Linked DNA regions of Homo sapiens: regions 2, 3 and 4 are each linked to region 1. The links are contacts of gene promoters, found by promoter capture Hi-C in human tissues and cell types (Jung and others, 2019). All regions are on one chromosome and are shown on one strand. Each heading gives the region's core, a stretch centred on a gene start or on the middle of the fragment in contact. The rest is flanking DNA. Distances are from core to core; before and after follow the strand shown.

Region 1 (3,031 bases), core at 164-2,663:
AAGGGTTCCTGGGAACCATTTTGAAGGCACATAACCTGAACAGCTCACTAAAAAATACCTGTTTCTGTTTGCTCTAGAACCTCCCATTCCAACAACATTCTATCCTTTCTGCCACTACATGCTTGCCACTCTGCCCTGCATTTTTTTTAATTTTTATTTTTTTTTATAGACAGAGTCTGTATATCTTGCCCAGACTGGAATGCAGTAGCTATTCATAGGTGTGATGACAGCACACTACAGCCTGGAACTCCTGGGCTCAAGTGATCCTCCTGCCTTGGCTTACATCTTGCTTTTTCTTCTTTTTCTGAGACAAGATGTCACTCTGTCGCCCAGGCTGGAGTGCAATGGCGCAATCACTGCTCACTGCAGCCTCCTCCTCCTGGGCTCAAGTGATCTTCCCACCTCCACCTCCCGAACAGCCGGGACTACAGGGCGTACGCCACCACGCCTGGGCAATTTTTGTATTTTTTTGTAGAGACGAAGTCTCGCTATGTTGCCCAGGCTGTTCTCGAAATCCTGGGCTCAAGCGATCCTCCTGCCTCGGCCTCCCAAAGTGCTAGGATTAGAGGCGTGAGCCACTGCGCCTCGCCACACCCTGCATTTTTAACACCTCACTGGAGCGCTCATCCTCTCCACCTGCTCCGCTATTCAGGAGCGGCTCTGCACCGTAGGCCATTTCCCACGACCAGCTGCTGACAACCATATCATCAAACTGCTCTTGTTCTCGCACCCCTTAAATGTCCAGCCATAATTTCTCAGGGAAAAAAATTTATACATTTTCAACAAATAGGATTCATTCTCAAATAGTCACATACAACACTCACTCTGGAAGAAACTCCCTTTCACATGCCGGTGTCTCCCCTGCCCAGCCACTTCCCAGCTTTGAGGTTGGGCTCATCTAGGCTGGAAAACCAAGGGACTGGGCCGTGGTTTTCCCACTTCCACTTCCCAGTTTGCTTTAGTTTATTTTCCCCCCTCTTTGGATTCCTGAGGCTAAGATGAAGAGAGTCACTTGAGCCAACTTTTTTTCAGTGTTTGGGGGGAAAAGAATGTGGTTTAAAATAGGGGCTATTTGTGACCCAGACCTCTCTCCTTAAAGCCCTCTACATCTATTCCCATCCCGCCTCCTCTCTCCTAACACCTGAAAGATGCATGAATATAAAGTCATATATCATGAACTTTATTCCAAATGAGATTGCTAACTTACTGTGCAACTTTAGGAAAGCCCCTTAACCTGTCTGGGGCTCAGTTTTCACACAAATCCAGAGATCCTTGCAGAGAAAGGTGCAGTTCTCGTTCAGGCAGCAGGAGGCGCTGTCTCTGGAGGCTTAGATTCATTCCCCGCCCTCCGCCCGCTCCCGCCCGCCTCTGGTGCGCAGGCGCGGCTTCGCGGATTGGCCGCGCGCGGGGGCCGTCATTCGGTGGCGGGTCCCGGCCGCGGGGCTGGCGGGCTGAGGGGAGAAAAGATGGCGGCGGCGGCGGCAGCTGGTGCGGCCTCCGGGCTGCCGGGTCCAGTGGCACAAGGATTAAAGGAAGCGTTAGTGGATACGCTCACCGGGATCCTATCCCCAGTACAGGAGGTGCGGGCGGCTGCTGAAGAACAGATTAAGGTGCTGGAGGTGACGGAGGGTGAGTGAGGCGGGACCGTCACGAGGATGGCTCAGCCGCACAATCCGCTGACCGCAGCTCCGTACCGGCTGGGGACATGGGGAGCCTGAGCCAGTTGGAGATGTGGGCGCCGAGAAGTGGAGCAGGAAGCGAGAGATTGATGTCGCTGGTGGTTGTGAAAGTCCGAGAGAGGAGAGGCGCGCCTGAAGGATAGGGTCGGGGGAGGTGGAGCCTGGGAGTGGGGGAGGGAGGGTGGAGACTTGAAAAGATAGATGGAGCCTAGAATCTGCAGGGGACGGAGATGGAGCTAGACTTGGTGCTGTTGGAGGAAGTAGCGCGGTCGGGGAAATATTTTTTGAGTCCAGGACCAAAGTCTTTCGCTGTTCTCTTCACCAGCTGGATTGTACTGGGATAAGAGTAGGGGGAGCTATTAGTAGGAGTGGTGAAGGGTAGGGCCTCGAAAAGGCGGCTATCAAAGCTTAATAGATGTCATCAAACAAGTTTCTGCCTCTGAGTTATAAACCTAGCTAGTTGTTTGTACTCTTCGTGTTTTCCCAGAAATTAAATGCATATGCGATTGCTTCACTGTCCTGACCATACTTAACGTTTATTTTAAAAATAATTTGCCCTTATTAAATACCTTTGTGCATTTCTGTTTGGAGGAACTGATCATCCTTTGTTTTTGATTCTTTGTCTCCGTCCTCTATTGTGTGCTTTAAAGTGATGGAGAAGAAAATAAACCATTGGTTCGAGATTTTCTATCAATTTCCTGCCGCGTGAGCCTTTCACCGGGTCCAGTGTAGCTACCACAAAGAACAATTTAATCCAGAAACAGGAGGAGAAATCTTCTTGGTCTTTGTGTAAGAAATATATCTGGTCAGAGCTTCACTGGAACTCCAAATCCTCAGAATCTCCCAACTCAGGAATATTTCCACCACCACTTAAATACTTCATCAGAGATATGGGAAATTGTCCCATCACACACCCATCATATTCAAAACCTTCAGTTAGCTCTCCTACTGGACGTATTTCTATTGAAAAGAATTTAGAACAAATCTCTCTTAAATTTAGTTTACATTCTTTCACAGTATGAAAGAGCTGTTGAAAACAAATTTTCTTCTGTTGGAAATATGTTAAGATTTGGGATCTAACAGGCTAAGGACCATTTTGAAGGCCCACTTGTAATTGTCATTGTTTTATAAAATATCAGATCTATACAGGAGAAACCACTGGTTAGGAGAAAGCTGTTTGAGAACCATGTATAAACTAATCTAAAGGAATTTTTAGCGGCTTCTAAATAAAATTCGTTTATGCACATTAATGTCTGTCCCCCTTGAGTATGAGGAAGGAAGAGTGACAAAGCAAAGGAACCTCATCACATTCAAGTTGTCACCTGAATAAAACTTGAGAGTCTGGTGCAAAT
Region 2 (3,031 bases), core at 268-2,767, 200 kb before region 1:
GCCTAGAGCTGCTGCCATGGCAGCTCTGCCAAGGGCCAGGCTGGGCCACCCTTCAAAGCTTCATAGCCAAGGAGGTGCCATCTGCTTCCTAGAATCCACAGACATTGTGTTTTTGTGGAAATCTCTCCTCCCTCCCTGCCACCCGCCCCAGCACCTCAGCCTTCTGCAAAGCCCCAGTGGAATGCAGAAGCAGAGGTCACCTGCTTCCCTCCCCATCTCCAGCCTGGTCATGCCTGACCTGCTTCTCCAGGGAATGAATCTTGCAGCCATCTTCTCCCCTGCCCCATCCTCCACAGCCCTCTCTTTTCAAGGGCCTTGGTGTGGCCTTCCCAGTGAAGCTTGTCTCCTCTCATCCATCACTTCCCTTTGGACCCAGAGAAGGTGCAATCCCCTGTCCGCTCTCAGGAGACCCTGGTCTCACACATCTAATTCCATCACATCCTCAACCTCATCCCTCTCTGCTATCCTGGAAGAGAGCCACAGCAGCTTCACCACAGCCCTTGCTGACTTTTCCCAACTGCCAGTGCACCCTTTACCACCTCCCTAACCCCCAACAGTTCTCTTCTTCCTGCATTGGGTGGGCCTTGGGTTGGACTTCAATTGGAACTATGGTTAATGGTATCAGGAGCGTAGGGTTACTGGTGTCACTACTGCAATTTTCTTCTCTCTGGTTCAACCTCTGCCTGACTTCTGGCATACAGAGTGCTGTCCACTCAGGCTGAGAAGTGAGGGCGGACATGGAGGCCTGGCCATGTTTGGAGAGATGGAGGCAGATGTGGATAAAAATACAGAGCTGACTGAAATTAGAGATAAAGCCTGCCTTCCTCAATGTTTCTGCCATTGGAGTTTCTGGCCCATATGACTGATGTAACCTCACCCACTCTTGCATCATATTAATGGCAGCAACAATCGTGACTGTAACTATTTCTTTTTTTGTTTTTAGTCTTTAATTTATTTACTGGAGACAGATTCTTGCTTTGTTCCCCAGGCTGGGGTGCAGTGGCACAGTCATAGCTCACTGTAACCTCAAACTTTTGGGCTCAAACAATTCTCCTGCCTCGGCCTTCCAAAGCTCTGGGATTAACAGTTGTGAGCCACCACCCTGGCCTATTCCTATTTTTCTTTTTCTTTTTTTTTTTGAAATGGAGTCTCACTCTGTCGCCCAGGCTGGAGTGCAGTAGCACGATCTCGGCTCACTGCAACATCCACCTCCCTGGTTCAAGCGATCCTCCTGCCTCAGCCTCCCGAGTAGCTGAGATTACAGGCATGCACCACCAAGCCTGGCTAATTTTTGTATTTTTAGTAGAGGCGGGGTTTCGCCATGTTTGCCAGGCTGGTCTCAAACTCCTGACTTCAAGTGATCCATCCGCCCCGGCCCCCCCACCCTAAGTACTGGGATTATAGAAATGAGCCACTGCACCCGTCTGCCTATTCTTATTTTTAACACTGGTTATTGCATACCTGCTCTGGCCCAGACGCTGTGCTTAGCTCTTTACATATATGATGTTAATCAATGAAACAGTTGACACATTATATAGAATTCCCTCTCCCCAGTAGAATTTTCTGTTACTTTCTCACCAATATGTTGCATCCCCTACTTCAAAATCCCAGGTCCATTCTAATTTCTTCCAAGAAACCAACCAACCCCAGTCTTTCTTTATCCCCTTGGCACTTGTGTACTTGGACAGACATTTAATTGACAATAAGAGCCTGGTGCAGTGGCTCACACCTGTAATTCCAGCACTTTGAGAGGCTGAGGTGGGCAGATCTCGAGCTCAGGAGTTCGAGACCAGCCTGGGCGACATGGCAAAACCCCATCTCTACAAAAAATATGAAAATCAGCTAGGCGTGGTAGCTTGAGCCTGTAATCCCAGCTACTTGAGAGGCTGAGGTGGGAGGATCATTTAAGCTCAGGAAATCAAGGCTGTAGTGAGCCTTGATCATACCACTGTGCTCCAGCCTGAGTGACACAGTGAGACCCTGTGTCAAAAAAAAAAAAAAAAAAGAGAGACAGTAGTACATGGCGATTGTCCCCATCATACCAAGCACCCCCAGGGGCCAGGATGAGGCCTCCTGCTTTCTCTAACGACACCCCACCCTGCACTATCCCCATCATTCACCTGAGGGGCCTGAGATACAAAAGAGCTCAGCACTGCCTAAATAGCTTAGAAAAAGCTGAGCAGAAGCAGCAAACACCTCACAACCCTAGACTGTAAAACAGATCCCAGCCTTGAGGGGCATCTTTTCACCCCATGATGGAAGCCGGACCCAGAGAGGAGAAGAGATCTACTCCAGGTTATACAGTGAGTTAATGGCAAAATTGAGCCCAGAGTCCCGGCCATCTAGGCATTGAAAAAAGTGAAAACTGGAGAGAGAGAAAGACAAATCTCAGTGGCACTGGAGACTCTCAGGGTTCCATGGCCCAGCCCTTCAATTTCCCCTCCTGCCTGCACAGCCCTCCCCTCCCCCTCCTGCCAAGCTGCCAAAGTCTCCATTTAGCTGGAGACAGCGGGCGGATGGGTGGGCGGGCCAGCTCCCAGAGCCTAGGGTAATTGCCTATAATGAAAGCTCCCACAGCCTTTGTTCCTGGGAGCAACTGTACGGTTGAGGTTGTGCTCAGAGGTCTGTGTGCACTTGGGAGCTGGTGCCCAGAGACCTCACCCTTCCTTCCTGCTACCACAACGGGCCCAGCAAGAGACCTGTCCTCCCGGGAGTCACTGTGATTGCAGCTGAGCCTACTCCTCCTTCTTTCCTGACCTACAAGCTGCCTGGACTACGAGCAAGCCCAAAGCCTGTGTGCCCCCTGAGCTACCAGGAATCAGTGACTTCAGCTTCAGAGGGAGCTCTTCCCTGTGTATATGTACATGGCTGTACATACATGCTCATCCTGAGGGCAAGGATCCTGGCAAGACAAAGGACCCAAGGCCTGGAGTTGCTAGGGTATCCCTCTGCCCTATAAGTGATAACGTTCCTGGGAAATGGGTAGACTGTAGAATGTCAAGGGGTGACAAGCATCGGGCATCCCAGTATC
Region 3 (3,031 bases), core at 161-2,660, 180 kb before region 1:
CATCTTTTAAAAGCACTCTGCTGCTCTGCTTAACTCTGGCAGGCAAGGGACCCAGTGCAAAGCCTCCTCTTGATTCCCTAGGTTTGACACAGGCCTTTACAGTTCCAAAGCCCTTCTACCTGTGAAGCTGGTATTATAACCACTATAAAAGAAAACAGAACCAGAGGGGTTCAATGACTTTGACAAGGTCACATTGCTAATTGGAATAGAAACCCAGTTTCCTGATCTCAAGAGTTACTCCTTCCCCTACAAAGCCCTCAGCCCCCTCCCCAGTCAACGCTAGGCCCCTTCTCTCCAAGCCACCCGTGTCCTACCCCCATCCCCTACCTCCTGGGCTCAGGAGGGCAACCTTGAGCCTCAGAGACTGAAGTAGGGCGGGACTGGGAGTTTCCTGGGGGAAAACCAAAGACGGTTTGGGGTTGGGGGAGGGGAATGAGCACCCTGGATACCATTCCTCCACCCCTCTCCCGACATCTCTCTCAGGCCCACGGGCCCACTTTCCCTCCCGCATTCTGAGCCGCCCTCCCTCCGTCTCTTTTACCTGCACCTCCACACCTCCTCAACAGATCTTTATCCTGGACACGGCAGGGGGTCCCCGTGCCCTCCGAGAATCCAAGAACCCGCCCCGCTTCTACGCGGAAAGCTGGGAGAAAAACTGCTTTTCCTTTATTTCCCCCTACCCCCCACTCATCCGCCCCTGGAGCTCCGCTCGCAGATACCTCCCCCTCCCGAGCCAGAAATAGACACACTATCTCTCCCCCACCTCCCTCCCCGTGCGCACACTCGCTCCCCTCCTCCTGTTTGCTCCCCGCCTTCCCCTTCCCTCCTTCCTCTGCTCGGAGCTGCAGCCTGCAGCCTCGACTCGGGCTGGCTGGCTGGCTGAGTGCGGCCGGGGCGCTGCCCGGCAGTGCGGTGTCCACGGGACTGACAGGCAGGCAGGCCGCGGGCTGGGATCCGGACACCAAAGCAAAAGCACCGCTGGGCGCCGGAGGAGCCGCGGGGCTTCCATCCTTCCTTTGACTGATTTTTAAATTTTAATTTGTATTTTCCCCGCCGCCCCGCCCCTTTTCCTCCGACCCCGCCCTATCGCTCCCCGGCTTCCCTGCTCTTTCCTTTTTCCCGGCTTCCTTCCTCGCGTTTCTTTCCCCTGCGCCCTCGGCTTGCCTCTCTCCCTCCTCCCTCGCTCTCTCCCCCTTCTCTCCCCTTCTTCCTCGGTTTCTTCCGTCCTCTCTCTCCCCCTCCTCCTCCCCCGCCTCCTCCTCCTGCGCTCCCGCCCCCTGCCCCCTCCCCCCGTGCCTGCAGACGCGCGGATCGTCCATGCGCTCCTCGCGGGCAGAATGCTGGGCAGCAGCGTCAAGAGCGTGCAGCCCGAGGTGGAGCTGAGCAGCGGCGGCGGCGACGAGGGCGCGGACGAACCGCGGGGCGCCGGCAGGAAGGCGGCAGCGGCGGACGGCAGAGGCATGCTGCCCAAGCGCGCCAAGGCGCCCGGCGGCGGCGGCGGCATGGCCAAGGCCAGCGCGGCTGAGCTGAAGGTCTTCAAGTCCGGCAGCGTGGACAGCCGTGTCCCCGGCGGGCCGCCCGCCTCCAACCTGCGCAAGCAGAAGTCACTCACCAACCTCTCTTTTCTCACGGACTCCGAGAAAAAGCTGCAGCTTTATGAGCCCGAATGGAGCGACGATATGGCCAAGGCGCCCAAAGGCTTAGGCAAGGTGGGGTCCAAGGGCCGTGAAGCTCCGCTGATGTCCAAGACGCTGTCCAAGTCGGAGCACTCGCTCTTCCAGGCCAAGGGCAGCCCGGCGGGCGGCGCCAAGACCCCCCTGGCTCCGCTCGCGCCCAACCTGGGAAAGCCGAGCCGGATCCCTCGAGGACCCTATGCGGAGGTCAAGCCGCTCAGCAAGGCGCCTGAAGCGGCCGTGAGCGAAGATGGCAAATCGGACGACGAGCTGCTCTCCAGCAAGGCCAAGGCGCAAAAGAGCTCTGGGCCTGTCCCCTCTGCCAAGGGCCAGGAGGAGCGCGCCTTCCTCAAGGTGGACCCCGAGCTGGTGGTGACCGTGCTGGGAGACCTGGAGCAGCTGCTCTTCAGCCAGATGCTGGGTAAGTCCTGCCGCCCCGCCCCGCCCCGCCCCTGGCTTTCTCCTAACCAGCTGCTGGGGAAGGTGTGGGGAAAGCGAAGCCCCCTCCCCTTGCGCCTTCCCGGAGGGCCCTCCTGTTCACGATCAGGCTGTGATGGGCATTGCGCCCAGATGTGCTGAGCTGGCCCACCTCCAGATGCGCATGGCTCAAGTGTACCTTCTTAAAGACATTACAGGCGGGAACCCGGGCTCGACTCTGGCCTGCCCGAGGTGAGGCTGGACAATGGGATGGGGGGTGAGGGGGTTACAGGCTCTCAGAAATAGAGCCAGAATCCCAATATGGCAAAACCTGGGACTGGTGGAAACCTCCGTTGTGGTGTGGCCTGCGCTTGACAGGAGCATCCCGCATTGCAAGGGGAGCGTCCAGCGAGAGCCCGGATCTAGAGGACAGATGTGGGAGAGCAGATGTGAGGGCTGATTGGCCCCGGAACACAGCTGAGGCTCCACTTCCTCTGTGGATCCCGAGTGGGAGCGCAAGTCGGATTTCCCCGCGGTGTGAGGATTCTGGCTAAAAGAAGCGTCTAGGGCCGGGGGCGGGCGGGCTGCCAGCTGTGCGCATCTGGGCGCATGTCCGATACCTCAGCCCCGGCTCTGGCCCCAACCCCTACACCCGCAGGTCTTTTAGGGCGTGTCGAAAGCTCTGGGCGTTAGCGCCGAGACTCCTGTTTGACCGGGAAGCCTTTGCCCTGTGGCTAATGGAAGCCGAGCAGGCGGGAAGGGAGGAACAAAGCTTGCTCGAGTGGAGGAAGCGCGCAGAGCTGTTCCATTGTTCTCCGTGCCTGAAGAGTCTATGCAAAAAAACCCGAAGCGGGCCCCGGAACTGCTCTTTCTCTCCCCGGAGAGCCCCTGCCCTCAGAGAGGAATAGATCTGGGATGTGCCGGACGCCAGGCGGCCATGC
Region 4 (3,031 bases), core at 226-2,725, 160 kb before region 1:
CCGAGCCCAGGACCGTGCTGGATACTGTGGAGTTCTAGAAGAAGGGTAGAAGTGGTCCCTGCCTTCCGCGAGGGTATTATCTTCCCCAGGATATAACCAAGTGCTAAATCTCAGTGTGCCATCTCCCTGTATGACATTGATCCCTCTTCATATGTCCTTTTTACGGGCTGAACTGAGGAGCTCCAGATATGTTAAGGTGCTCCCTCTTCAAAGCCGACACCTCCCCTCCATACCTGCTTCCTGCCCCACCCCACCTACACATACCTCTGAGCAGGTATGAGACAGGTTAGAGTGGGCAAATGGAACTTTGTTGGACCAACAGGGAAAAATGTGGACACTGAGGCTAACAGTGCTACAGTATGACCTTGAGCAAGTCATTCTACCTCCTGGGGCCTCAATTTGCTCATCTCTCCTAAATAGAGAATAATATTTGCTCTACCCTTTCTAGCTCAAAAAGCTGTGCGGAGGACCAAATGAGATCATGAATGTGAAAACTCCTGCACTCCTAAGCGTTGGGTGGACGTCACTGGGAGATGCAGACCCTGGGCACGCTGGGTCTCTAGGCAGTGGGCATTTCTCACAGAATCTCCTAGCTATCTGGTCAGCAGACCTGGCCATAAGGGGCTCTGGTCTGGGAGTTCCCATGGGGAACCATGCCACTGGTCACAATACCGATGCTGGCTTCTATCTCTGGTGAGTAATGTCAGGCTGTCTCGAGGTTAAACCTTAAAAGAGAGGCTCCATTTCTCCACAAGGAGCAGGCCCAGCTTAGGGTAAAATGTCAGAGATATAAGACTCTCTCTGCCATCCTGATCCTCCGCATCCCGGCCTCTCTCCCACTCCCACTCTATCAGCAGTGTCCCGTCTCTCCTCTTTAGCCTGCCAAAGCTTTCCTCTCTCTTCTTCCTTCTCTACTTTCTCTCAGGACTGAACCAAGAACTCACTCACACTGAGGCCACTACTAACTGACAACAGCCTAAAGCACTGTATTTGAAACGTTTTTTCTCCCACCTTGATCCTCCAAGTCAGAAATACATTTTTCAGCAAACTCAGTACACACATACTGAGTCAAAAGTTTTATGAAACAATACTATGCACAATATATTTAAGTTTTTTGTATGTGTGATTTCTTGATTGTATTGTATGTGGTCTAATTTTTTTTCAATTGCTGGTTGCAATCCACTACATTGATTTCATGATCCACAAATGAGTTACAGCCTGCAATTTGAAAAGTCCCTGGCCTAAAAGAACCTTCTTTCTAAGCACAGAAAGTCCCTGGGAACTGGTTGTCAAGACAGTTTACCCAGATTTTGGATAATAGAGCAATTTCTTTGTGCCAGGCCCTGTTCTGGGTGCTTTATGTATAATAGTTCAGTGAACCCACACAGCCCTTCTATGAGGTAGATGTTATTGTGATCATCATTCACATTTTATGGGCCAGGAACCTGAGGCAAAGAAAGGTTAAGTTCCTTATCTAAGCTCTTACTGCTAGTAAGTGGCAGAACTCAAGACGCCGTGTGTTTAACCATTGGGCTCTGCTGCCTTTCAGGGTGTCATAGAAATAAGGTGGCTTTGCAGAGGGATATACATGATGCTCTAAGAAAGCCTATAAGAAGTCCCTGTGGTCAGAGCAGGACTCAGATGCTTCTGGAAGGCAAGCTTGGTTTGCATGTTGTAAAAAACCTGCCAAACAGACTGGGCTCTGAGAACTTACCGCCCAACAGACGCTCAAGCTCGACTGCCCTGTGGACGCACATAGACTGATGGCGATGCCAGTGGGGACGACTGAAGCCCTTGGGGTGCATGTTAGGCCCACATGTAGAACTCTGCCCACTGGCCAATCAGCAAGCAGTACCGAAGAAAAGCCTGACTCTGGTCTTTACAAAAAAAAATACTGCCGTTAATTTTAAACACACCTCTTTTTGCAGGCTAAATAGAAAAGTGAGCTTAATCTACACTCTTGCTGTTCTTTAATGAATTTATTGTTTTAGGCTCTGTGAGAATGCAATAAAAGTTAAAAATGTATTTCAGAACACAGTGCAAATGTGTCTCCGCATTTGATGGATTGCTTTTGAGTCCAACACTTCCGGCCCGTGGGCAGGCAGGCCCCACAGATGGGCCGCGGCATCTACGAGCAGAGCGAGAGTGCGTCTATAAGGGATGGTCGTGGGAGGCACACACTTATCAGATTTCATTTCTGTTCTCTTCTCTTGGCATAGTAGCTGGAGAGTGGTAAAATGGGAGATGGAGAGACAGTGAAACAGCTGAAGTAGCAGCCTCAATTATTTACAGACCAGATTGTCAGCCTCCCAAAAAATGAAAATTGACCTCACATCTCTCTTCTCCTTTTCACAGCTGGGAGGGTCAGGCACATTACTATTGGCCACTCTCAGCATTGGCCATTCTCACCTCCCCATCCCTCTGCATCCTCAGCTAAGCTCAATGCAGAAATTCAAACGCAAGGAACAGGCCCTGCCCTCAGAGAGCCCCCATTCTGATGTGGGAGAGAGGGCAGAAGAGTTCAAGACCCAGATCGTTAACAAGGGAAGGCACAGGCATAGGACAGAATGTATGTAGCCGTGGGCACTGTAAGGGGCATAGCAGTTGAATAGCAGCCTTGTCTAGAGCCTAGATGTGGAATATTGCCCAAGAGTTGCACTTTGTAAACTGAGTCTATAAATACCAAGAGAATGTCGAAGAGAAGCTATTGAAGCCAGGTAGAGTTAGGGAAGGATTCTTAGAAGAGGTCAAACGTGAAGGGCAGCAGTCATGGAGAAGGTGCTTCATCTGAAGGTAGGGCCCAGTCAGTGCCTTGAAGCGGCAACCAAAGACTAGGAAAGCCTAAGCCAACATTTCTCAGTCCTGTTGGGGACTGCGCCAGCCACTGCTCTAAGACCTCGCTGCCAGGCCTGGCAGGTGGCCAGCCCAGGTGTCCAGGTGCCCAGATGCCCCACAGCAAGCCAAGGCCTCAATCCTCCCTTCACTTGATTTTCTGTGAGCCTTGCTTGCCAGCTAAGGTGTAGGGCCCTCC

What was found. Contacts are between HindIII fragments. The study calls those that stand out against the background at their distance.
Region 2: a contact is called between a fragment that was not itself captured here and the fragment with the promoter of IPO9 in region 1, in 1 of the 25 tissues and cell types used here (IMR-90 fibroblasts).
Region 3: a fragment that was not itself captured here is called in contact with the fragment with the promoter of IPO9 in region 1 in 1 of the 25 tissues and cell types used here (H1 embryonic stem cells).
Region 4: a contact is called between a fragment that was not itself captured here and the fragment with the promoter of IPO9 in region 1, in 3 of the 25 tissues and cell types used here (H1 embryonic stem cells, pancreas and thymus).

What each region holds. Positions count from the first base shown.
Region 1 is chr1:201,827,744-201,830,774 of GRCh38, forward strand. It overlaps IPO9 (importin 9), which reads left to right and starts at 1,414. Exons shown (of 24, transcript NM_018085.5): 1 at 1,414-1,629. The coding sequence starts at 1,467. It overlaps IPO9-AS1 (IPO9 antisense RNA 1), which reads right to left and starts at 1,816. Exons shown (of 3, transcript NR_046696.1): 1 at 1,208-1,816. RefSeq lists enhancers at 13-527, 528-1,041, 1,198-1,492, 1,504-1,713 and a silencer at 1,214-1,453. The HindIII fragment of the contact is 5,409 bases long and covers 1-3,031 here.
Region 2 is chr1:201,626,152-201,629,182 of GRCh38, forward strand. All of the region lies in intron 3 of NAV1 (neuron navigator 1), which reads left to right. All of the region lies in intron 1 of LOC124904482 (a long non-coding RNA gene), which reads right to left. Among named protein-coding and RNA genes, the nearest start is that of NAV1, 89 kb to the left of the region's middle. RefSeq lists an enhancer at 2,286-2,787. The HindIII fragment of the contact is 6,549 bases long and covers 1-3,031 here.
Region 3 is chr1:201,647,332-201,650,362 of GRCh38, forward strand. It overlaps NAV1 (neuron navigator 1), which reads left to right. Exons shown (of 34, transcript NM_001389617.1): 5 at 1,303-2,094. LOC124904482 (a long non-coding RNA gene) reads right to left here and starts at 653. Exons shown (of 2, transcript XR_007066789.1): 1 at 1-653. The HindIII fragment of the contact is 4,666 bases long and covers 1-3,031 here.
Region 4 is chr1:201,671,145-201,674,175 of GRCh38, forward strand. All of the region lies in intron 5 of NAV1 (neuron navigator 1), which reads left to right. Among named protein-coding and RNA genes, the nearest start is that of MIR5191, 47 kb to the right of the region's middle. The HindIII fragment of the contact is 3,628 bases long and covers 1-3,031 here.